2 separate regions of the Homo sapiens genome follow, and region 2 is linked to region 1. The links are contacts of gene promoters, found by promoter capture Hi-C in human tissues and cell types (Jung and others, 2019). All regions are on one chromosome and are shown on one strand. Each heading gives the region's core, a stretch centred on a gene start or on the middle of the fragment in contact. The rest is flanking DNA. Distances are from core to core; before and after follow the strand shown.

Region 1 (6,151 bases), core at 2,542-5,041:
CCTCACCCACAGGCACTGCTCCTCATCCCCATCAAGAAGATGTGAAGAAGCATCAATACGCAGTGAAGATCCAAAAGTGCTGAAATCCTAGGATGTCCTAAATTCTGTTAGGTTTTAAAAGAAATCAATGACTCCCCACCTCTGTTGCTCTCCTACCTCCTCTCTCACCCCACCACTTCCTGCAAGTGTTAGTGCCCATCGAGAAAGTTCAGATCTGAAGGAAGTAAATCAGAAAAGGATGCACAGCAGCTTATTCTAGTTAGATATCTTGACTGACATAAAAGAAGGAAAGCTGAATCCTGGGTTTATATCCTGAATATGGAAAAAGATGAACAATACTCTCAAAGGCAAAATAAGTGGGTAAAGAAGAAAACTGATGCCTGGGGTTGATGGGCTGAGGCCCCAGGAGATAAAACCCCAACTAGAACCTGACCTAATAAACTGGATCATATATATATACATATATATATACATATATATATGTATATATATATGTATATGTATGTGTGTGTATATATATATATGTATATGGCGAGCTGATTACCCCTCAGAACACACTTGCCCCTGAGGCCTGGGCCAAGCTGACTTGCTGGAATTGAGGAGGACTTTTAAAAGCTGTGGTGGTAGGAGCCAAGCTGGATCTGGACGGCTGAAAGCATTTATCAAAGTACTGTGGCCAATTTCCAAGAAGGCTATCCTAAAAGCATTGGTGGAAAAAGCCCAGGTAGATCTCAGGGAAAGTGAGACCATCTCCAATGTAATTTCTTCTCCCTTCTTGTGACTTTTAGAAATTATTGAATTATTATTGTTTTGATTAGTATTATTTTCAATGTATTATTAATGCCCCTATCTCTAGAGCTGTGTCATAACCATAAACTCCATCTCAACCTCTCAAAATTCATGTAATGCAGCTGTTGGCAACCAAATACCCAGCTTCTTGCCAAAAACTGCAGATTAAACATTCGTTATGGGAGTTTGCCATTAGCTGTTTCCTCTGTTATGGGCACATGTGGTTACATGTCACAAAACACACGGGATTCTGTGTAGTATATTTGAGTTTCCAGGGAGCTCCAGGGATATTATGTTGGTTTGGTGACACCTTACACCCCACCCCTTCAACCATTACCATCAAAAGTGAGTTTTGGTAATGGGGCAGAAACGGGTTTACTAGACAGCTCTTGTCCTTGGCTACGCTGTACTTTTCTCTATGAGTTGGACCTTTATTGGCATACAAGTATCCTAGAACTTGTATCACATGTCTTTCATTTAAAAGACACGTAATGTTTTTCCGGAAATTTAGGGCTTTTAAGACATATATTTATAAACAAGCTGACAGAGCTCTACAAGATAACTTGGTTGATAACTAGTTTGTATATTTCCTCAAGTCAGCAATAGGTGTTGTTGTTGCTGCTGTGAATTTTTGTAAAACATATTAAACGACCATTTTCTTATCTTTCCCGTGTTTAGTAGAGAAAGTCAGACTTTCAGGATACCTGAAAATAAGAAGGTACCGAAGGGGATAGGAAAGAATCGAAAATGGCTAACCCAACAGGAGTGAGTGAATAACGCAACACTCAACGTTTCCACAAGGCTGCCCGGGGGCCCGCTGGAAAGTGTCCAAAGAACGCAGAGCTGAGGCTACTGCTCACGCAAGGTCGGGATGCTACAGGACACTTTAAGAAGAGCGTTTCAATGGCTTCTTCCGACACCTCACTCTCTCCCCCTGGGCCTGACCTCAGAATGCCAGGTTGTCTGGTTTGGAGTTCCTGCGGCCCGACGCAGCCTGGCTTCCTGCTGAAGCTCAGTCCCTAGTGCTTTTCTTTGACCTTGCTCCCCTGAAATTTAACAATCTGCAGTTGGTTCTTGCAGCACTGCTCTGGAGAGAGTAATAATAATACAGCAGAAGCTAGTTAGTCCCAGGAATAGTGTCCACTTGCCTGAATCTGAGTGCGCGCTCAAGGCCACACTGAGCGCTGCGCCATGTGAACTAAGCTTGTGCGCCTCCTTGGGAGAACAGTCTGGGTTGGACTTTGGCCGGGCGAGCAAGGCTGCTGCTGCCAGCTGATCTGCTCGGGATCCGCCGGTCGGATCTGGGTGCTTAAGGCCGACCCTGCCTTTCGCGCAACGCTAAGGAGCAGCTCCGGGGTGCACAGCCCTCCCTGATTGTTACTCTCTGGCTGAGGCCTGGTCAGGTCTCGAAGAAGGTCTCACCAAAGAGGCGTGGGTCAGCTAAGACCCCCGCAGAAGGTGGAAACTCTCAAACCCATCAGCATGCCCACCACAGCTGGGCTTGGCCTCACCATCCTCAGAGTCCGGGCTGCTCGGCCTGCCCGAGGCCTCACCATAATTGCCAGACTTGTCTGGGGAAACGCGACGGCCGCTGTGAGTGCCAGTGTTGACAAAGGCTGTGTCAGGACGTCTAAGCAGAGGCCTACCTGGACCAAAACCTGTCTGGCTTATTTTCACCAAATTTGCTAGCTTAGGGTGCCTGACGCAAATGCGATTTTGTGCCCAGGGCACCGAACGCATTTCCCCCAAGCGCCGCGGGCTCCTAGGAAGCCAAGAGTCGTGCCAAAAGTCACACAGAAGGGCTTTCAACCTAGCAGTGCTGTCCTGCCTGCCCTACCATCCCCTCTGGTGGAAATGGAGGCCTTGGACCTGTCCGCGCCCAGGACGCCGCGCCGCGAGTGCCCGCAGCTCCGCGCGCTCACCACTCACTCCCAGAGCGCTTTTCGGAGTAACTCCACAGCAACTCTTTAAAATTAAAAGTAATTTCTGTAAAAATATGCAGACATTCCTCTTCTTCATAAACCCCTATTTGTAACAATCCTCACTTTGGCATTAGAGTAAAAGCCTTTCAAAGGCACTGATCCTAACGGGTTTTCTTAAAATAATTTGGGTCTAATGATAAAATCGTGGACCAAAGGGAAGGGTGGCGAAGAGGGTGTAGGGAATTGGTTGGCATTAGTATAATGGCTTCATTGCCTCTTGCTCGGCTTCTCTCTCCCACCCATCGCCACCGCGTCCACACTCCGCCGCATTCCAGAGAAAAAGAAAAGGCCACGGCCTCGTAAAGCTCCCAGCTGGCCCGGACCCCGAGCTCCTCCCGGTTAGAAGCCGAAGCGGCCCCTCTACTACGGCGGCTGCGATTAACAGTTGCCAATGCATCTGGTTCCTTGGGCTTCGGATTAATGTGAATCTTCCACGTAAACGATTTACGGATGAAATAAAAGCCTTTTAGAGCAATATTTCCTTTCAAGTTCTTAAGACGCCTCTAAATCTTTCTGGTAGTGAGTGGCCGGCATGGGGGCGGGGTGGGGACGGGTGGCTCAGGAAGGCGCAGGCAGTAGGGAGTGGAGGTTTAACTGCTTTGCGATCTCACCAAGATCTTCCGAAATGCCAGTCCACTGTCACGGCGGCAATGAATCTGGGTGTCAGGGGCTCGTCTCTCCTGGCATTTGTCTGAAATGGAGCTGTCTGTCTGTCTATCCTAGGCCTGGACGCCCTCTGCCCGGGTAAGTGGGGAAAATGGGGGTGGGGTAGGGGCGGAGGGGGACCTGGGGTGGAGTTAGTCGCCCGCCTATTTTCATATTCATTAGAACTGGGAGGCTGCCCGAGGAGGCCAGCTGAGTTTCAAGATATAAAAGCAACTTCGGGTGCTCCTTTTCCAGCCGGGACGTATTAAAGGGACCGGAGCGGGGCAGTTCCCGACGCCGCAGCGCTCGCTTTCCCTTCCCTCCTCTCTGGCCCTCCCTCCTCCCACCCACTGGCTCCCTCCCCCAGCGCTCTCCAGTTTCTGTGCCCCAGGAGCTACGCGACAGTCTTCCAGGATTATGGAGTTTCTGAGCGAGAAGTTTGCCCTCAAGAGCCCTCCGAGTAAAAACAGTGACTTTTACATGGGCGCAGGAGGTCCTCTGGAGCACGTTATGGAGACGCTGGACAATGAGTCCTTTTACAGCAAAGCGTCTGCAGGCAAATGCGTGCAGGCCTTCGGACCCCTGCCCCGCGCCGAGCATCACGTGCGCTTGGAGAGGACCTCGCCCTGTCAGGACAGCAGCGGTGAGTCGCTAGCGCCCCAGCCGGAGCCGCCGCAGCCCTTCCGCAATCGAAAATGCAGGATCGGTCTGATCAGGCAGGGAGGGAGAAAGGAGAAAAGTGGGAGCGAGGGACCTGGAAGGTGGAGGAAGGTAGTGGAAGGTGCTCGCTTTATGAAGCGGTGTTACTGCTGCTGCAGCCTTTGGGGGCGGAGGGCGGAGGGAGGGAGAGATCCAGCACCGGGTTGCCTCTGAGCGATTCTCCTTTCGCTGTAGGGTCTGGTCGCCTACGGATCCCTGAGTCCTTCTGTAATATTGGTTCCTGGAGTAAACTGATAGGGCGCTAAATAGAGCGTAATTGAGTCAAGACAGAACGCTTCCTCTGCGAGCCCGCCTTGCAGTCCGGGCGGTAGGAACTGAAATCGATCACAGCTCGTTAGAGTACGTCACTGTCGTCACGAGTAGGGAAAAAAAAACCGGAAAACAAAAACAAAAAACAAAAAACCCTTTGAGCTCCTTTAGGTAAAGATAAATCTTTTTAATTTTCCAAGACGTGGCGATATATTTTCAAAGTTTGAGGATCCCTAGATTTCTAGCGTGTGTGAATTTGTAATTTCTGCTTTTTTTTGCGTTTGCAATACAACACGCGTTGAATGTTTGTTAAACACTAAAGCACACTAAATAGCTTCGGGCAAACCATCCCCGGCCTAATCACTCATTCCCAGATTCTACGTTTTGTATTTTTATGACTTCACATTAAAAGTCACCTAAGGAGTCTTTGGAATGCTTCTGGGTGAAATCTTCAACTTTGAATGCCCAAGTATCTCCAAGTCAAAATGTTATCAAAACAAACCATCTATCTTTTCTATCTTGTAACCTAATACTAACCTATTATTTCAGATCGCGACAGCTAAAGCACGTTTACAATTCCAAGAGAACTTCTCCTTATCATTGTATATATTCCACAGTTAAGCTATAAGGGGCGGGTTGCTTTAAAATAACAAACGAATTAAGTGTGAAATATTTACAACAAGCCCCCTGCCCCCTATTTTATAGAAATTCAAAATCTGACAAAACACTGGCCTGTAGAAGCTCATTTTCTAAATATTTTGAACACAAGTTTTTTTCTTTTATTAATCTCATATTTAACTAATTTTATTTAACGTTGCAAGTAACTTTTGACTAAGGGTAAATCAAAAATAAAGGTGCAAATGATAGAGAAAATAATCAGCTAAGTCGTTTCAGTCATTTATTTAGAAAGATTCGAGCGTATACTTTTTGTTATTCTTACACTGAGTTGTTGGTTTTCTGGCTGCGTTTCAGACCTGGTATCTGTATTTGTGGAATTCTTAGGTGCATGCCTAACGTTATTTGAATTGACAGGTCTTTCTTTAATGATTCTGCAATGTCTTGTATTGACTCTGGATGGACTTGATCATAATATTTTATTTTGAATAGTCGAGAATCCAAAATAAGAGACATAATTGATGCGTTATCAACTTTTAAACAAATATCACACTATTAAGATGAATTATAACAAAGAAGTGTTAAGGAAGATGAACATAGGCAGTCATCCGCTTAATTTAGGAGAGATCCTGTCTTTCTCTTGAGATGCCCTTAGCCTCTCTGATGCTTCCCCTCCCCCATCCCTAATTGCTGCAGTTCCCCCTTTAATTTTGCCCAAGGAGATAGAACCGTTTGTTAATCAGTCATGGCTCTTCTTTATATTTGGTTTAACATCACATCTTCGTTTGCATGAAAACCGTTAATTTAAAAAATTTGTTATATATATATATAGACAAATTATAGTTGTATATATTTATGGGGTACAAAGTAATGTTAAGTTTTTTTAATGCAATGTGGAATGATTAAATTACGTTAATTGGCCATCACCTCAAATATTTGACATTTTTTATTATGAGAACATTTTTGAGAGTTACTCCGTTAGTGACATTGAAATGCACAGTACTCAATTATTAGCTATTGAAGTTATATGCGCATTAAACTTGAATATATTTGTATAATGATGAAAAGAGTTGTAAAAATACATTATGGGGGTAATTTTAAAAAAAGAAACAAATGAAAAAAGTATGATCATCTATTGGAAATTATTATTC
Region 2 (6,328 bases), core at 3,819-6,318, 37 kb before region 1:
AAATGAGCCTTGTAAGAAAAAAAATCATCACTAGAACCAAATCAGATAACCTTTTTAAGATTCTTGCCTGCAAGTTATAACATCTATTATAAATATATTCAGAGATCTAAATGTTGAGGAAACAGATTGAAATCTTAATAGAGAAAATAAACTTTAAAAAATAAGAAAATAGAAAATCTAGAACTGCAAACTATTTCACCTTAATTGAAAAAAAAATAATGGCTGGACTTAATAAATTAGACATTGGGAAGAAAAGTGCACTCAGAAACAAAGCAAGATAAACTCTCCAAAGTGGGGCAGAGAGAGAAAAAATAACTTAAAAAAAATCAAAGCTTGAGTGCTCTGTCAGATAATAGCAAGCAAGCTAATAGATATGTTGTTGACTTTCCGGAAGAGAGATTAGAGATGAAAAAATATGTGAAAACTAATCACTGAAAACATTTAAAATTTGATGAGAAATACGAGAAAACAGATTTAAAAAGCTTAACACAAAAATTACACCTATGCACCTCATAATCAAATTGCTGAAAACCAACAAGAAAGAAAAAAATTTAAAGCAGCTAAAGTATACATGATATACAGGGGACCATTTGTAAGGATTATGGTTCACTATCGATCACAAATATTGACATCCAGAAGAAAGTGGAAGAAAAAAATGTCAACCTTCAATTCTATATCTAGTAAAAATAGAATTGTAATTTACCACATTAACATAAAAAGGAAAACAATCATTATCTCAATATATGCAGAAAATGTTTACCACGAATTCAACAGATTTGTGGTAAAAATTCATAGAAAATTAGGACTAGAAGACACTTTCTTAACTTGATATACTTAGTGGTTAAAGGCCCAATGTTTTGTATCTAATATCAGGAACAAGGCAAGAAAATCTGATTGGAAAAGAAAACCATCTGATTTTCACAGATGACATCTTCTTGTACATAAAAGTCTTAAGAAATCCTCACAAACAGTTTAGACATAAGTGAATTTATTCAAGGACACACAATAAAGTTTAATTTAAAATATGCTACGTTTCTAAATATTAGCAATAAAGTTTAAAAATTAAATTTAAAAATTTCATTCATGACAATGTCAAAAATGGAAAATATTTAAAAATAAATGTTAACATTGAAATGTGCAAGCCCTCTACACTCATAACTGCAAAACACTGCTTTAAAAAATTTCAGAGACATACCATATTTATAAATAAGTTGAAAAACTCAAATTGTAAGAAATTAATTCTCCCCAAATGTTCTGTAGATTCAAAGCAATCCCAGTAAAATTTTTGGTAGAAATGTACACACTGATATTAAACTGTGTATGGAAATGGAAAGGACCTAGAATAGCAAATGCAATCTTGAAAAAAGAATAGTAAGACTCGTGCTACACAGAATTCAAGACTTGCTATCAATCCCCGGTAATTGAAACTGTTTTATACACACACACACACACACACACACACACACGTGTATATATATACACACACATATATGTATGTATATATATTTATATATGTGTTAAGATACAAGAATCTATCAATGGAAAGTATAGGGAGTCCAGAAAAATACCCACACTTGTAAGGTCAATTGATTTTTTATAAAGTATCAAAACAATTCAAGGGGGGGAAAGATAACCCTTTCTACACATAGTGCTGGACAACTAGATAACTATATGGAAAAAGAATCTTGACTCCTACTTCTCATCTTATGAAAAATGAAATTAAGATGAACTATGAGCCTAAATTTAAAAGCCAAAATTGTAAAACCTATTGAAGAGGCCTGGCATGGTGGCTCGCGCTTGTAATTTCAGCACTGTGGGAGGCCCAGGCAGGTGGATCATTTGAGGCCAGGAGTTTGGGACCAGCCTGGTCAACATGATGAAACTCCATCTCTATCAAAAATACAAAAATTAGCTGGGCATGGTGGCACGTGCCTGTAATCCCAGCTACTCAGGAGGCTGGGACACAAGAATCCCTTGAACCGGGGAGGCAGACTTTGCAGTGAACTGAGATCACACCACTGCACTGCAGCCTGGGCAACAGAGCAAGACCCTGACTCCAAAAAAAGTAAAATATAATCAAATAAATAAAAATAAAACCTATTGAAGAAAACAGTAAGATACATCCACAAACCTGGCATAGGCAAAAAGCCTAAACCAAAAGTTACAAATCAATTATAGTTCATATTTAAAAGCATTTGCCCTTACGAAGACACAATTCAGAAAATAAACAGAAATGAAAAGTCAAACCACATTATCGGAGAAACATTCATACTCTTTATTTCTGTCAAAAGCAAATGAAAACGTGTTCACTTAGAGAAATAATTAAAGCCACTATATAATACCACTCTACCCCATTAAAGTGGTTAAAATAAAAAATACTGAAATTATCAAATGTTGACAAGTATGCAGAGCAACTGTATCTCTCATGCATTGCTGGTGAAAATGGTACAGCCACTCTGGAGAAAAAAACTTTATAAGCTTTATAAGCTTGTAAAGACTCTGGTACATTCAGAAGCTTTATAAGCTTCTTATAAAGTTAAATATACACTTAACATACGACCTAATTATTCTTCCTTTGAGCATTTTTCCTAGAGAAGTGGACTTTCATTCAAACAAAAAACTGTACATAAACTTTCATAGCAGTGTTATTTGTAATAGCCAAAACTTAACACAACTCAAATCTCATTGAATGGGTAAAATAATAAAGAAATGATGGTACATACATACAGTGGATATACAACACACAATTAAAAAGCAATAAACAAGAAAGCTGTTGACATATACAAATATTTCCATCGATCTCAAGAACATTATGTTGAGTTAAAAAGGGCTAATCTCAAAAGATTACATGCTGTATTATTTCATTAATATAAGATCCTTAAGCATCACGTAATTATAGTAATAGAGAAAACGTGATTAGTTGCCATGCTTAGATTGGGGAAAGGATGTGACTATAAAGGAGAACAACAGAGTTTCTTTGGGAAGACGGAATAGATTTGTGTCCTAATTGTGATAATAGTTGAATCTATACATATTAATACAATACATAATCTATACATATATGTATGCATAATTTATACATATGATAAAATGTCATAGAACTGCAAACAAGAAAAAATTAGGGCATGTGAAAGCTAGCGAAGTCCTAATAAGGTCAGTAGTTTAGTAATAGTATTGATACAGTGTCAGTTTTCTGGTTTTGTTGATCATGATTTGGTTATGTGAAATGTTGTCATTGAGGCATGCTGGGTGTAGGGTGCATAGGGAACTCATTGCTATATTTTGTAACTTCTATGGGAGTTTTAAACTTCTATGGGAGTTGAACTTCATGTTTAAGGTCTTTGCACTTTACGGCATGTACATTATGTCTTTTAAATATTTAAAGTGCCTTCCCTACCCACATATGTTATATAACAAGACATCTGTCTTATTACATAAGAAAAGGAGTTTATGAAAAGATGATGTATTATGAATTTAGGAGTATGCATAATTCATTTTCTTTACATGAAGTTAAAAAGCTTTTAAAATCACTCATATGTCTAGATATATTACAAATAATTATGTGATATATTTATAGTATATATTGTAATTTTGCCATAATTTGCAAATTATTCTAACAGTTAAAATAAATGAACTAAATCTAGATCTCACATATATAATGTACAGTGAAAAAAGCAAGCAGCAGAAAATATATCATTTATGTTAATTTTGAAATAATACTCTAAAATGTTTGATACATATGTAGAAAAACAAAGTAGCATGTAAGGGGACTTCATCTTTATAAAACTCGCTTTCTCCCTTTATAAAGAAATATCTGGGTAATAAGTACATAGACATTTGTTTTTATGTGTGCTGTTTTGTATATCTTCACTTCCAAAAAGACAATACTTTTAAAATTAATAATTAATAAAATCTTGTTTATGAAAAAAATGTAGAAGAAGAGGAAATCCCTCTTGTTTAATATATGAGAGAGAATCTCTTTTTTAATTAAGTTGCCAAAGTTGGAGGTGAATCAGAATCCAAATGCTTGGAAAGTCCTGTCCCAAAATGTACATCCGTCATTTCATTGTGAAATTATAGGGCGGAAGTGGGGAGAGCGGCAATTACAAACCTTGTAGGTAGGGCGATAAAAGAGATCCGTTCCAAAAACAAAGACCTAAAAGAATTTTGCAAAATTACAGTCTAATAAGTATTTGCCATTATGTTGTATGTGAGAAAATTCTTATCTGACATTAACTTGAGATTATTATATTATAACCATAAAAAATATTGCACTATTTTGGAATCCAACATACGTTTTTGTAGAATAAATGTCGAATGTGTGATCAGTTATCTTCAGGTTAAGTTGGCCCTCCATATCTGTCAACCAACTCTGGATTGAAAATATTCAAACAAACAAAAAATAACAATACAACAATAAAAATGATACAAATAAAAAAACAATAGAGTATAACAACTATTTATGTAGCATTTACATTTATTTAGGTATTAGAAGTAATCTAGAGATTATTTAAAATAGAAGGGAGAATATGCATAGGTTATATGCAAATAATTCTCCATTTTATATAAGGGACATGAGCATCCATGGATTTTGTTATCTGTGGAAGTCCTGAAACAAATCCCCACAAATACTGAGGAACGACTGTATATACAATTTACATGACATTGAAGAAAATCTGTATCTTCTTTACCATTTCTCTATTTTTTAACACTAAGCAGAGAATGATGTTTAGTTGGGAAGCCAATGTTTTCAAAAATAAGATCTAAATATTGTTGCATATCGCTGTGCCAGATTCACTGAAAGACATTTAACTAGCCCATTTATGAAATTTCTAGGTTTGCTTTTAAGCTGCTAAATGGCATCATTGTGAAGCCATGTGTTTCCAGTAATTTTACTTCTAAAGTTTATTTCCTATGTAATTGACCAAATTAGTAACTGACACTAGTTATTTTCTACTTTGGAAAAAATCATCTTTGGATGTTAATTACTTAGATGATAATAAATTTTTTGGAAGGTGTTTATTTACAAATATTTTCTTGACTGTAGGTTTTGTCTTATTTAGGGGAGAGTGGGAATTCTACTTTCTAAATAGGTGTAGTGAAATTATGTCATTACATTTAAATAAATAAACCTCATTTTACAATATTAAGGCTTATAATCTTAAAGCCTCTTTAGTCTTCAGGAGGGTCCCTTATGTGGTTCACATGTTTTTTCTTGTTACCTAAGTAGCCTCTCCAAAATTGTGGTATTGCTTTGATATTTCCCCTTAACTTTTGACTGTTTTTTTTTTTAAGGTTTACCATTGATGGAACTTTTCTAATGCAGCTATTCTAATGTTAGACATGTACTCTTGGATACTATTGAAATACATTTCAAAAATAATGTATAACTTTTATTATTATTATTATTATTATTATTATTATTATTATTATACTTTAAGTTTTAGGGTACCTGTGCACATATAAATCACAAGTATAAATTGGAAACGATTTTTATTTATTTTATTTTAATGTTTTCTACCGAGGTTTTTTGACAATGTCATTATATTACTTAGCCAGTTACATTAAGAATGATTGACATTATACAATGGTTTATATTCTGAACTCAGCAAGAGCAATACTTGCTTACTTAAAAATAGTATGTGAGGCAATACATATGTTAATTTGCTCAATTTAGCCATTCCACAGTGTATATATATATTTTAAAACATTGTGTTGTACATGATACATGTATACAATTTTTGTTTGTCAATTAAGACCAAATAAACAGGGAAAATATAAATAAATTTGGAAAAATAGAAGTATATTAAAATAAATAAATAAATGTAAGTTCATATGTTTAAAAGTAGGAAGAAGGTGGGAGGGGGATGTAAAGGTGAAGGGCAAATATCTGAATTTTAAAGAGGGTCATTTTTGGATACTAGCTCCTTGAGTCTTTGTGGCTCATCTTATGGAGACAGCTTTTTAACCACAGTGGTGGTTTTATGCTTTTATTTTGCTATATTTAAGTTTTCCTAACATCAAACATTAAGAACAATGCATTTTCACAGGATTTCAAGCATAGTGTGGTTTTGGTTAAATCCCAGCTACTCTGAGGCTGCTTTGCTTTCCCTCATGGCATTTCCCCCTATTTCAGAACTGAATCCTAATGTATCTTTATGTAATGATATTCAACATTATGTACAACACTGTTTTATAGGTAAGAAGCAATTATTTTTGGCACTTAGATTCGGTCTAAGTAATACAAATTCAAAGGCAATTTGAGATAAAATAAATAATTTTTATGTTCATTAAATAATGTCCTGAAATATCTATATATTTATAATTA

The links. Contacts are between HindIII fragments. The study calls those that stand out against the background at their distance.
Region 2: a fragment that was not itself captured here is called in contact with the fragment with the promoter of ALX1 in region 1 in 8 of the 25 tissues and cell types used here (H1 embryonic stem cells, adrenal gland, liver and 5 more).

What each region holds. Positions count from the first base shown.
Region 1 is chr12:85,276,429-85,282,579 of GRCh38, forward strand. It overlaps ALX1 (ALX homeobox 1), which reads left to right and starts at 3,792. Exons shown (of 4, transcript NM_006982.3): 1 at 3,792-4,059. The coding sequence starts at 3,834. RefSeq lists a silencer at 3,883-4,177. The HindIII fragment of the contact is 12,363 bases long and covers 1-6,151 here.
Region 2 is chr12:85,237,921-85,244,248 of GRCh38, forward strand. All of the region lies in intron 26 of LRRIQ1 (leucine rich repeats and IQ motif containing 1), which reads left to right. Among named protein-coding and RNA genes, the nearest start is that of ALX1, 39 kb to the right of the region's middle. The HindIII fragment of the contact is 9,323 bases long and covers 408-6,328 here.